2 separate regions of the Homo sapiens genome follow, and region 1 is linked to region 2. Evidence: promoter capture Hi-C in human tissues and cell types (Jung and others, 2019). All regions are on one chromosome and are shown on one strand. Each heading gives the region's core, a stretch centred on a gene start or on the middle of the fragment in contact. The rest is flanking DNA. Distances are from core to core; before and after follow the strand shown.

The links. Contacts are between HindIII fragments. The study calls those that stand out against the background at their distance.
Region 1: a fragment that was not itself captured here is called in contact with the fragment with the promoter of MTNR1B in region 2 in 1 of the 25 tissues and cell types used here (mesendoderm cells).

What each region holds. Positions count from the first base shown.
Region 1 is chr11:93,151,437-93,157,921 of GRCh38, forward strand. It overlaps SLC36A4 (solute carrier family 36 member 4), which reads right to left. Exons shown (of 11, transcript NM_152313.4): 10 at 2,672-2,841. Among named protein-coding and RNA genes, the nearest start is that of SLC36A4, 43 kb to the right of the region's middle. The HindIII fragment of the contact is 4,868 bases long and covers 2,069-6,485 here.
Region 2 is chr11:92,966,931-92,973,193 of GRCh38, forward strand. It overlaps MTNR1B (melatonin receptor 1B), which reads left to right and starts at 2,721. Exons shown (of 2, transcript NM_005959.5): 1 at 2,721-3,018. The coding sequence starts at 2,796. LOC124902733 (a long non-coding RNA gene) reads left to right here. Exons shown (of 2, transcript XR_007062838.1): 2 at 1-1,985. RefSeq lists an enhancer at 3,269-3,768. The HindIII fragment of the contact is 7,785 bases long and covers 1-6,263 here.

The DNA.
Region 1 (6,485 bases), core at 3,253-5,752, 190 kb after region 2:
ACATCAGAACACAAAACAAAGCACTTGATATTACAGCACCAAAAACAAAAATGTGGAAAATAACTTAGCACATTCATTTTAATTATACAAATAGTTAATGGTGCTCTCCACATACCGACTCTAAGACAGGATATCAGGAAACAGAATGGTACTTTTCTAGTCTGCAGAGGCAACTAACTTAAATGAAGGATTTTAGTGGGTTTTCTCTACAAACTACTAAAGATTTATAGGTTTTGATACTTATAAAGTCATAGTCTACTATAGATTATAAAAACAAGGACTTTTAAAAAATTACAAACAGTAGAAGGATCAACAAATTAGAGAGTAACAGAAGTAAATAGTACTTAGTATATTTTGTTGATTCAATTCATACACAGAATTGAAACACTGGTCTCAGTGTTTATTATAATACATTTAAAAATGTAATGGCTCATAGTACAGGTTTACTCTTAAAAGGTATTTATGTCCATGGTGACCTTTGGCTGGTTTCTACCGTCCCTCCTCCCTCACTTGTGAGGTGCCTATATACCAGGTAAGCACCTAAAGGGAACACGCAGGAGGAGTCTGAATCATTTCTAAAGTTTTTGAATTTCACTAAGAAGATATTTTGAGATCATGATTCAAATGCTAAATGGATACTTGGACACAACCAACATAATCCAAGCTGATAAGTCCACTTCTTTAAGGACTAATACAACAAACATGGATTCAGTACTTGGAAAGGATTATGGAACATTGAAAGACATTCAATTTTCAATGCAAATCAGGCTGAGCCTCCACTCTCATTGCTAGTGCTGCTGCACAGCCTACTCTACAAACATGACAAAGTCCCATCAACTGTCTACACACATTTATCAGTAAAGTGTACGCCCCCAAATCTTTTCAAGTGCTTTGGAAAACAGAATTAAAAAGCAGTTTTGCCATGAATATCAGTTGGCTTTTACTTTAATTTGGAAGGATATGTGCCAAAGACACAAATGAAGTTCAGGTTCAGTGTCCAGTGATGTGTCCCAATATAGCAGAAGGAAATATTACAGTTTTTGTTCCCTTTCTCCAAGGCATATCCCATATATGGATGAGAAGCTTTAATGACTTTTAACTAAAAGAAAGCAGCAGCCAAGAAAAGGCTGCAGTTCTCTGTGCTATGAACTAAGCCCCTGGCTTCTGGAAACAAACTCATGGAAGCAGATGTGGCGTGGTCTGTGCCTCAGCTGATTCATAACTTCAATACAACAATGCCAGCCAATATACAGAAATGGGTGAAGTTATAAAAAAATCCTAGACCCCTTTTCCCATTGCCCTCAAACTCCTTTACCTGAATTTCCATTACCAACTTTAAAAGACGATATACTTTCAGAATAGAATTGTCTTACATCTATTGATAAAAACACTTTTACTGAAATTAGTCTTTTTATTTAGTCATTACCAAAATGTCAATAAAATAAATGTATAAAAATACTTCAAAATGTCTTAAAATATCTTTTTCCTACTGAATGTTTTTTCATTTGTCATCAGAGTATGGGCTTATTGACTTCATTTGTTAATATGATTTCTCTTATTAGTGATATAATTCATTTAAGTAATTACTTCGAAAAATACATTTTATCTACTTTTTCAGCTTTGCATTTCCCATTTCAAACAAAATATAATACACTCAATTCTTTAAATCTAGGCATGAGCTCCATGGCAGGCTGCTCAAATCAATTTATTGAGTTGCCCCGAATTTCTAGCTCTACTATTCTAAATAGTGCAAGATGTTTATTAATATCTTACACAAGGAATTTCCAAAGCTGCTTGTTCCCCAGAACACTAGTAATCTGGTCCCTGGTATCATTTTAGGCAATCCCAGTTTAGTTTGGTGATGTAATCATCTGTATATTTGTAGTTACAGTAATGGTTACAATAATGATCATAACTTCCAGCTATTAATACTTTGTTAATATTATTTCTAACCCCATCAAAATGCCATAAGGAAGTTTTATCTTCATTTCACAGTTGAGGAAAGAGGGGCTCAACAATGGCATGTAACTTGCCTAAAGACACCACCGAGTAAGTGATAGGCTTGACTTTGAATTCCCAGATCTGTCTGACTCCAAAACTTACACTCTTTCCACTATACTGAACTCAAGCTCCCTTTCCATGAGTCTCTATTATGAATGCTACCTTGAGAAGGCATTTTATGATGAAGAGTCTTAATAAAAGATTATATACACTTCTTCAAATAATAAGAAAATAAGACACTAAAATTATGAAAGACCAATACAAGTAAAATTAAACACTTTCCTGTAGGTAGTTATGAAGAAGTAAACTGTTAAAATATACAAAAACAGGAATGAAAAACCTGAGAAAAACTAGAACCAAAATAAAATGTGTATCAGAAATGGAAGGGGTCCCATGTACACATTATTTTAATCACCAGTAATGTAATTTTCAAAATAACTTCATTAGTTATTTTAAGTGTGATAGGATCTGGTTTGTGTTTTTCTTATGTAGTAGTAGAAAAATTGAATTTTAACCTGAAAAGTAACCCAGCTGGGTGAATAAAATTGTTTTAAAAATATTGAAAAATACATCTTATGTAGCTTTCATTTTAAGAAATTACATCTTATATAGCTTTCAAGAAATTGAACAATAAAAAATTATTATGATATAAATATATAATGATACTTACAAGTAATACTAACCAAGAAGGATCTTATCCCAAATTCACAGATTTGCTTCCATTTAGTATGAAATTTGGATGTGATCCCAGGGATAATGATCTCTGCTGGAACATAGAACTGAATTGAATATGTCACAAAAATGCCAAAGGAATATAGAATTTTCACTGATTGATATAACCTGTTGAAAAAAATTTTCAAAATTTAGTCATTTTTAATGTGAATTTAGTTTTCCTCCTTTATTTTTAATATTAAGATAAATAAGAAATCCAGAATACCAAATTAGGCCAGAACCTTACTAACTAAAAATGCTTGTTTGTAAAAAAGGCAAATTGATCTCTAACTAAATTTCTAGATGATACAAGAACAATTCATTTTCACAAGACTGGAAAGCTTGAACATGCATGCCAGGGTTTAGGGTATAGTGGTAAAAAGATTTCACTTTGGGATAAGCCAATATTCTGAAGGTTAGACTCAGCCCCTCAAAGAGCTAAAGTTTTCTCAACTTTCTTTTTAAAAACTGAGCCTACTATATGTCTTAAATCCTGAGTCATACCCTCGTTGATCTTTACATAGAAGAAAAACTCACATTAAACTTAAGTATAGTTCTTGGGTGAAAATCTTTGGAGGTATGTCATCAGTTGCAGAAATGTCATCCATCTTAAGTCTAAAAGCAGACATCTAAACGGTTTCAACTTGCTAAGTTCTCTAAATTACACATACAATCTATTGTTTAAAATTACATTAAATAAGAGACATACAGTTGCTGGGTAAGGTTGTTGTTATTCTTTTGGGCAAATTAACTTATCTCTTTGATATACAGTGCTTCAAAACAGCACAGCAATTTTCAGTTTTATAAATATCTTTAGATTTCTACATTATGGATAACCTCCTGTCAAAACTTCGCATGCATGTCTTGATAAAGACTTCAGTAACTTTCTTAAGCCCAGAAAAAGAAGACTTTTTAAACGTTAATGACATGAAGAGAAAACAGAATTGTAGGACCTAGAGGAAGAAACATTACAGAATCCACTCTTTAGGGTTGCAGAATAATAAAATTAATATGCTGTATTTAAAAAAACATTTTAATATTTTATAAAATTCAAAAGAAAAACCCAACCATCTTGCATTTTTTAAGTAACAAAGCAGAGAAAACACTGTGGGTTCAGTGTGCTGCAACTTCGGGGCAGTGATTAACACATATGTCCTCTTTCAGCAGAAACATCTTCCCACGGTTTTCTCATTTAAGAGTTCTACTTTCCCACCTAAAATTCCCATGCACAGGGAAGAGTGTTTTCTTTCTTACAAAAAAATGCAATCATTTTAAAAGGATTATATTCTACTTTTGGTATATAATGTCAAGGTATATAAACCTTGACATTAATGAAGCTTTAAGTATAAATGTACTTAATATATAAGTATATAAATGTCGACATTAATGGAGCTTTATTTCTGATGTCTTAAGACTTAAAGTAGTAAGGATTTTTTAATTTGACTTTTAAAGTTCAGGGGTACATGTGCAGGTTATATAGGTAAATTTGTGTCATGGGGGCTTGTTGTACAGATTATTTCATCACTCAGGTATTAAGCCTAGTACCCATTGGTTATTTTTTCTGATCCTCTCCCTCCTCACACCCTTCACCCTCAATAGGCCCCAGTGTGTGTTGTTCCCCTCCATGTGTCCGCGTTTTCATCATTTAGCTCCCACTTATAAGTAAGAATATGTGGTATTTGGTTTTCTGTTCCCATGTTAGTTTGCTAAGGGTAATGACCTCCAGCTCCATCCATGTTCCTACAAAGAACATTATCTCATTCTTTTTTATGGCTGCATAGTATTCCATGATGTATATGTACCACATCTTCTTTATCCAATCTATCACTGACAGGCATTTAGGTTAATTCCGTATCTTTGCTATTGTGAAAAGTGCTGCAATGAACAAAGGTATTTATGTGTTTTTCTAATAGAATGATTTATATTTCTTTGGGTATAAACCCAGTAATGGGACTACTGGATCAAATGACATTTCTGTTTTAAGGTCTTTGAGGCATCGCCACACTGTCTTCCACAATGTCTTGAACTAACTTATACTCCCATCAACAGTTTATAATAAGTGTTGTTCCTTTTTCTCCATAAGCTCACTAGCATGTTATTTTTCGACTTTTTAGTAATAGCCATTCTGACAAGTGTGGGATGGTATCACACTGTGGTTTTGATTTGCATTTCTCTAATGATCAGTAATGTTGAGCATTTTTTTTTCATATGACTGTTGGCGGCATGTATGTCTTCTTTTGAGAAGTGTCTGTTCACGTCCTTTGCCCACTTTTTTTTTTCTTTTTTTTTGGGGTGGAGTCTCACTCTGTTGCCCAGGCTGGAGTGCAGCAGCTCAATCTTAGCTCACTGCAACCTCCACCTCCCCAGTTCAAGCGATTCTCCTGCCTCAACCTCCCAAGTAGCTGGGACTACAGGCGCCTGCCACCACACCTGGCTAATTTTTGTATTTTTAGTAGAGATGGGGTTTCACCATATTGGCCAGGCTGGTCTCAAACTCCTAACCTTGTGATCTGCCCGCCTTGGCCTCCCAAGCCCTTTGCCCACTTTTTAATGAGATTCTTTTCTTATAAATTTCTTGAAGTTCCTTTAAATGCTGGATATTAGACCTTTGTTCAATGCATAGTTTGCAAAAATTTTCTTCCATTCTGTAGGTTGCCTGTTCACTCTGTTGATAGTTTTCTGTGCTGTGCAGAAGCTCTTTAGTTTAATTAGATCCCATTTGTCAATTTTCACTTTTGTTGCAATTGCTTTTGGAGTCTTCATCATAAAATCTTTGCCCATTCCTATGTCCAGAATGGTATTTTCTTCCAGGGTTTTTATAGTCTGGGGTTTCACATTTAAGCCTTTACTCCATCTTGAGTTAATTTTTTGTATATGGTGTAAGGAAGGGGTCCAGTTCAGTCTATCCCATATGGCTGGCTGGTTATCCTAGCACCATTTATTGAATAGCGAATCCTTTCCCCATTGCTTGTTTTTGTCAGGTTTTTCAAAGATCAAATAGTTGCAGGTGTGTGGCCTTACTTCTGGGCTCTCTATTCTGTTCCATTGGTCTATGTGTCTGTTTTTGTTCCAGTACAATGCTGTTTTGGTTACTACAGCCCTCTCGTATAGTTTAGAGTTGGGTAGTGTGATGCCTCCAGCTTTGTTCTTTTTGCTGAGGACTGCCTTGACCCTTCAGGCTCATTTCTGGTTCCACATGAATTTTAAAATAGTTTTTTCTAGTTCTGTGAAGAATGTCAATGGCAGTTTAATAGGAATAGCATTAAAACTATAAATTGCTTTGGGCAGTGTGGCTATTTTTATGATATTGATTCTTCCTATCCATGAGCATGGAATGTTTTTCCATTTGTTTGTGTCATCTCTGATTTCTCTGAGCAGTGTTTTGTAATTCTTGTTGTAGAGATCTTTCACATCCCTGGTTAGCTGTATCCCTAGGTATTTTATTCTTTATGTGGCAATTGTGAATTGTGGCAACACAATACCATTCACAATTGCCACATAAAGATTTGGCTCTCAGCTTGACTGTTATTGGTGTATAGAAATGTTGATGTTTTTTGCACATTGATTTTGCAGCTTGAGACTTTGCTGAAGTTGCTTATCAGCTTAAGAAGCCTTTGGGCTTACTATGGGGTTTTCGAGATATAGGATCATGTCATCTGAAAACAGGGATAGTTTGCAGATCTTGCAGTTCTTCCTATTTGGATGCCCTTTGTTTCTTTCTCTTGCCTGATTGCTCTGGCCAGGACTTCCAATACTATGTTGAACAGAAGTGG
Region 2 (6,263 bases), core at 1,471-3,970:
GGCAAATTCCTATGTTTCATGCTCAGTTTAACAAATGTGTGTTATTAGAGGGTGTGTCTGGATGGAGGTAACTTATACTGTGTCCAACTCACCTATTGCTATGTTGGCGTGTGAAAGTTGAGAAGTGCCACGATGTGTTTGCACCTGTAAGACAGGGAAGGCGTGGCTGTCTCTTCTTCCTGAAAAAGCCTCTTGGCTTTGACACTGCCCATTGGTGTCTCTTTCCCCTTTGCTGTTGCTCTCCTGAGGACATGTTGGTCATTCCTCCTCATTCACTGGGGATTCGCCTCCTGACTCATAGTTTTCCTTTTCTTACCCCACCATAATATCCACCCCCGACTTCTCAGTTCCTTTACCTTCTCATCTCTAACAACATTTTTCTCACCTTCCACCAGCAACCCACTACCCATAATCACCCTCAGAGCCTTCACAGCAACAGAATCTACATGCCTCAGACATCTCAGTTTCAAACAACTCACCCTTTCAGCACCACAACTTACATTTTCTGATTCACTCACCACAATTCCTTGAAGTCACAGGGCCTGCAATCTCTTGACTTTTCCTTTGTCTCACAGCCCATCAGCCCCTCTGTTTTCTCATCACCCCTCATTAATGTAAACCCCAGGATCCATCTTCTCACCAGGCCCCTGAACTTTCTTCTGTTATTTGCTCCTACCCAGCAGACCCCAATCCTGACTGAAATTCACTCTGCCTTCTCCATGCCTGTCCTGAGTAGCTCCAAGTTGCTGATTAACAACCACTGGCCAGGCTGAGTGGCATCATTTGAAGCCATCATCTCAAGCTGCAGGGGGACATTCATGCTCCTGACACGCCTGTTATACTTTACTAGTTAATGTTTCCACTTTCTGAAGTGCTCCTTCATATCTTTTTTTTGTCTTCAAATCTCCTACACTGTTCCCCTGAATCCTGGCTAATGGGTAGCCTCTATCTCCCTGAGAATACAGAAGCCAGACAAGAGTTCTCTTCTTTCCTCACACCAGTTTAGAAGTGCATCTGAATTTGCATCTGGCTTCTGATTCCTTTCTACTACAAGAAAGAAAGCCTCCCTCTCCTAACAAATAATATTTCTTCCTTGGGTTTTGGATGAGCTCACTTTAAGGAGTTCTGGATTAGCTCACTTCAAGGATGAGCTCACTTCACCTCTCCCTTCCCTCTCCCTTCCCTTCAACATCCACTCATGCCTCTGCATCATCAGCCCCTCCGTCTCCACTGCATCCTTCCTTCTTTTTTTCCCCCCTTTAAAGGAGAGGGGCAATATAACTTACGTAAAATAACATATGTAAAAATAACAATCCAGAAATTTTTTGGTGTTTGTTTCTCAATACCCACCCTCAAATGTAACCACTTTTCTGATTTCTATTAGAAAATAGATTAATTTTCCCTGATTTTGGACTTCCTATAACTGGAATAATATGGTATATATTTTTTGGTATCTGGCTTCTTTTGTTCAATACAACATATTTGTGATTAATCCATGCTGTTGTGTAGGTCAATCATCTTTATTGCTGAGTAGTATTCCATTGCAAGGTCATACCATAATTTGCTTATCCATTCTTCTGTTGGTGGAAATTGCAGGTGTTACCAGATTTGAGCTCCTATAAACAAGGCTGCTCTGGACATTCTTGTACAGGTCTTTTGGTGGAAATATACTTTCCTTTTCATTTGGAACTTCTGGTCATAGAATAGGTGTATATTTAACTTTATTAGGAGCTAACAGACAGCTCTTCAAAGTGGCTATACCATTTTGCATTCTCATAAAAGCAGTGTATGAGGGTTCTGGTTGCTTAACTTCCTCCACAAATATAGGATAATCAGTCATTTTGATTTTAGTGATTCTAATGGGTGTGAAAAGTGCTTTGGGGTCATAAGATTAGCCCCCATTAGAAGTTATCTATTATTATTATCACCAGATCACGACTCAAACATTTTTAATAAAGGGCACCTGAGTTCCTTCTTTATTGTAATCATGCCTCAATCTTCTTCTTGTCCTAACCCCTCCAAAAACCACATCATAACCCCCAATATTGGCCATACATCTATTTAAGTATTATGTGTAAATATATGTTGGTAAATATGTTAAAGTATTGGCTTTATAAAGAGGACCCAGTAGAGACATCATCAATGCCCCCCACAATACCCAGCGAGTGCTTGGAAAATGGCTAGGTTCGTATTTTTCTGCAGCTCCCTAGAATATAACAGTCTACCCTACTTTGTTCTGGGCTCTGTCCCCACATCTTAGGAGTTGCATTCTCTTTCGGGCTGCACAGCCCTATGGGACGTCAAACCTTGCCTTTCTTGACAACTGATGGGAGGTCCCTACCATCAGCACCTTCTCCAGTCTATCAACCTGGGTTGGACGTCCCTACCTAGACACAGCTTCTCTTGGGGACGCTGTGGAGGAAATCGGGGTCTCGGGTGTGGCTATATACTCAGGGACAGAAGCTAGACGCGCTCCGCAGCCTGAGGTGGGCCAGGCACCTGCTGGGCTCGGGGTGGCAGAGACAGCTGTGCGGTCCCAGCTGTTCCTGAGCGCACCGCTGAGGGACGCACTCCCTTCTACAACGGCTGCACCCCAAGTCCTCCTCCCATTCCTATATTTTTCTCCATCCCCTGCCCACGCTTAATTAGTTATCTCCTCCAGACCCCTCCCCACTGGCCTCCTCCCTTGCACACGCGAGCTGGGCAGGGAAGAGAGCGCCCGGCTCAGTACTGCGCGCGCCCTGCGGCTGTCCGGGGCCGCGCGGTGGCCAAAGCACAGCGCGGGAGAGTCTGCGATGTCAGAGAACGGCTCCTTCGCCAACTGCTGCGAGGCGGGCGGGTGGGCAGTGCGCCCGGGCTGGTCGGGGGCTGGCAGCGCGCGGCCCTCCAGGACCCCTCGACCTCCCTGGGTGGCTCCAGCGCTGTCCGCGGTGCTCATCGTCACCACCGCCGTGGACGTCGTGGGCAACCTCCTGGTGATCCTCTCCGTGCTCAGGAACCGCAAGCTCCGGAACGCAGGTGAGCACCATTCCTGATGCTGGGTGCTGGCATCGGGCCCTTCCTTGTCTTCTGATCTTGTCCCTGACCCCGGGATATGCGCTGCCTTTTCCCTCCTCAGCCCGGGCTCCCCTTTCCCTTCACTCTAACCTATTCCTTAAGTTTGACTCTGCACTCAAAAGTTAGGGTGAGTTTTGCCCCTCCGAAGTGCGGCTGCCCAGGACGCGCTTGGCACAGAGGGAATTGCGGAAAGTTTTACTGGCGCGCTTTTTGGCCGGGCGCCGGCGCTGTGGGAACCCACGCTGCTGGATGCCATCGCTACCCCGTCGCGCTCCAATGCGTGTCTTTCCAGAGGTGCCCACATCAGGCCACAGAAATCTCACCACCTGTACTTGACATCCCACTTCCTTCCTTGCCAAGCACTGTAGCTTTATGTAGTAGTCGCTTAGAAAATCCTTGCTGAAAAAATGAGTTAATCAATGGAAGCATTTCAGTAGGTTTTGTGTCAAAAACTTATCTCCAGGTCATCTGAAGACCCAATTCCAGTTGACGGAGAGTAAATGCAGAAATTGCAGATTCTGCTTGGACTGAACTAAATTGCTTTGAAATATTGTGGTCTTTTCCGAAGACTGGGAATTCCTGGGATTAACTGTGAAAATTAAAGCAATGATTTGGCTAAATCGTGTTGTAATCCTGAAAATATTTTTCCTATTTCAATCCACTCTCATTTCAATATTCCCCTAGTCAGGTCTTCAAAGAAACAAAACCAGAGTGGGGGGCAGTATCTGAACTCTAGCCCTCACAGGTCATGGGGCATGATGACCACTTCAGCTTAGGAAGGAGCTCAGTCACCTGTTTGTTAATTTTGCAGTTTCTTCAAGTTGGGCCTTGGGAGCAAATTCAAATATTAGAGTGAATTAAAATGGAAAGATAGCAGCAGTAAAACAACCATATAGCTTAAAAATGCTTTTCTAAGGAGTCAGACCATTTTTAGCAAATAGTAATATGTATTTGGTGTGGCCTGTGACTCTAGAAATTTTTTTTTTTTGAGATGGAGTCTCTCACTCTGTCACCCAGGCTGGAGTGCAGTGGCATGGTCTAGGCTCACTGCAACCTCTGCCTCCCAGGTTCAAGGGATTCTCTTGCCTCAGCCTCCCGAGTAGCTGGGATTACAGGCGCTCGCCACTACACCCAGGTAATTTTTTATATTTTTGGTAGACACAGTATTTCACCATGTTGGCCAGGCTGGTCTCGAACTCCTGACCTCAAGTGATCCACCCGCCTCGGCCTCCCAAAGTGCTGGAATTACAGGCATGAGCCACTGCGCCCGGCCAACTCTAGGATTTTTAGCTAAAAAAACAAACAAGAAACTCCTCCAACTGTGAGTATCCAGCCATCATATGGGAAACATAACATTATTAAGAAGAAGTAAACTTTCTAACTCACTTCAGTAGTGGTGGCTGTTTTCTGGAATACATTGTTCAAAATATTGTGTCCTTTGAAGAAAAGCTTATATATTAGGGAAAAACAGGTTATGATTAGAAAACTGCATTTAATATTTTTGACACATTGTCCCTTGCAGCCATCATAAACATTCATTTCCAGCACAGGGAAGCAAAAGGGAGACAACTCCTGGCTCTATGGGGGAGAAATGGGTCCTCCTGGTTCTGACATTGGCCCCTTCTGTCCCTGACTTATTGAGTATTTAGAGCAGGTCTGTCAGGCCATGGCTCCCTGCTCAGTAATTTGGATTGCCCACCATGAGAAAGGTGGTTGAGGGAAGTAGGAGTTGCTTCCTTTTGCTGGAAGGAGAAAAGCACCCCTCCCCTCCTGCATCCTACAGAGGGCTGGCCTTTTCTGTGATCCTGGCAGGGTCTGCAGAAACCTAACCAGTTTAAGAGCATCACTGGGGAGGGTCATGAGCATGTTAAATTGCTGGCATATCCTCTGTTCTATCTTTCCTACCTCCTGATGTGTCCGCTACAGCCCAGCACCCGAACAAAAAAAAATAATAATAACACTATATCTAAATGACATCAATTCCTGCCACTGCTGCAGTCTTGCAATTTAACCAGTTCTTATGTGACCTCTGGCTTTATTGGTGACAGTCACAAACAATTGTAGTACTGACTTGAACTAAATGATCTCAGCAGAGTGAGATTTCAAAAGGCGCTTAAAACCTACAGCTCTTTGAATAGTTAGCACACATTCTACTCTTAATCAGGCCTTGTCTTACTGAAGAGTTTGGATTTAATTTAAGAAACGCTTCTTCAGACCTTTCTGTACTTAAGTCTGGCTCCTTAAATCATTGGTATTAAAAAATTAAGTCTGTAACAATGAGAATACATATATTTCCAATAACCAAGATACATAGCCCATATTGAGGTCACAGCATGTTTCCCAGGAGACACCAGTATCCTTTACTTGCCTATCACAAACCCAGTTCCTCTATGGAGCAGATCTGTATCATTCCTAACAGTGCCGCTCCTGATGGCAGGGTGAGTGGTTAGATTAATTGTCTTTTTTTTTTCAGGGATATCCTATCTGTAGTGTCTGTTGCTGCATGTGGTGGGTTGACTTCAGAGATAGCACCAGAGAAAGGCAGACAGGGAGGAGTGGAGGCAAGGTGGGAGGTAGGGTCAGGGCACCGACCCAACTTAAAAGGTAAGGCCAAGTGTGTTCACTCTTTGCTACATTCTCAGAGTCTTGCACAGCCCATGGCACTGGGTTGGCACCTCACGCCTGTCAGATTGTGCTTCCCAGGGACTTGCCACACTTTTGACTCTACTGAGAGCCGTTGAGAACTTTCCCTCCTGGGCTCACCACTGCTGCCCTGACCCTTGAGCTACACCTCGCTAATATTTATCTCTTGCATTTTTGAGCTCTTCCTTTCTCTCTTCTGGAAACTTCCTCCATGTTACACACACACACGATACACAAAGTCTCCTGTTTTAAAAGAACAAAAGACTCTTTTCTTGACTTCATGTCCTCCTAACTTCATCACTACCTCTCTCCCTCCCTTTTCAGCCAGACATTTTAATGTAGTTGTGGACATCTACTGGTTCTACCCCATTGCTTCCCGTCCTTCCTCAGTCCTCTGGGCGCCATTCTCTGGAAATGTTCCTCTGTGCTGTGTGTGACACTGAGGGCCACTCCCTCTGTGGGACCTTTCATTCCCTCGGCTAACCTGGTGCTAGTTTTTGGATCTCCTTTTTCTCTTCATCTCCCGGATACCTGTGCCCTGAAAGTCATCTTTGGTTCCTCCT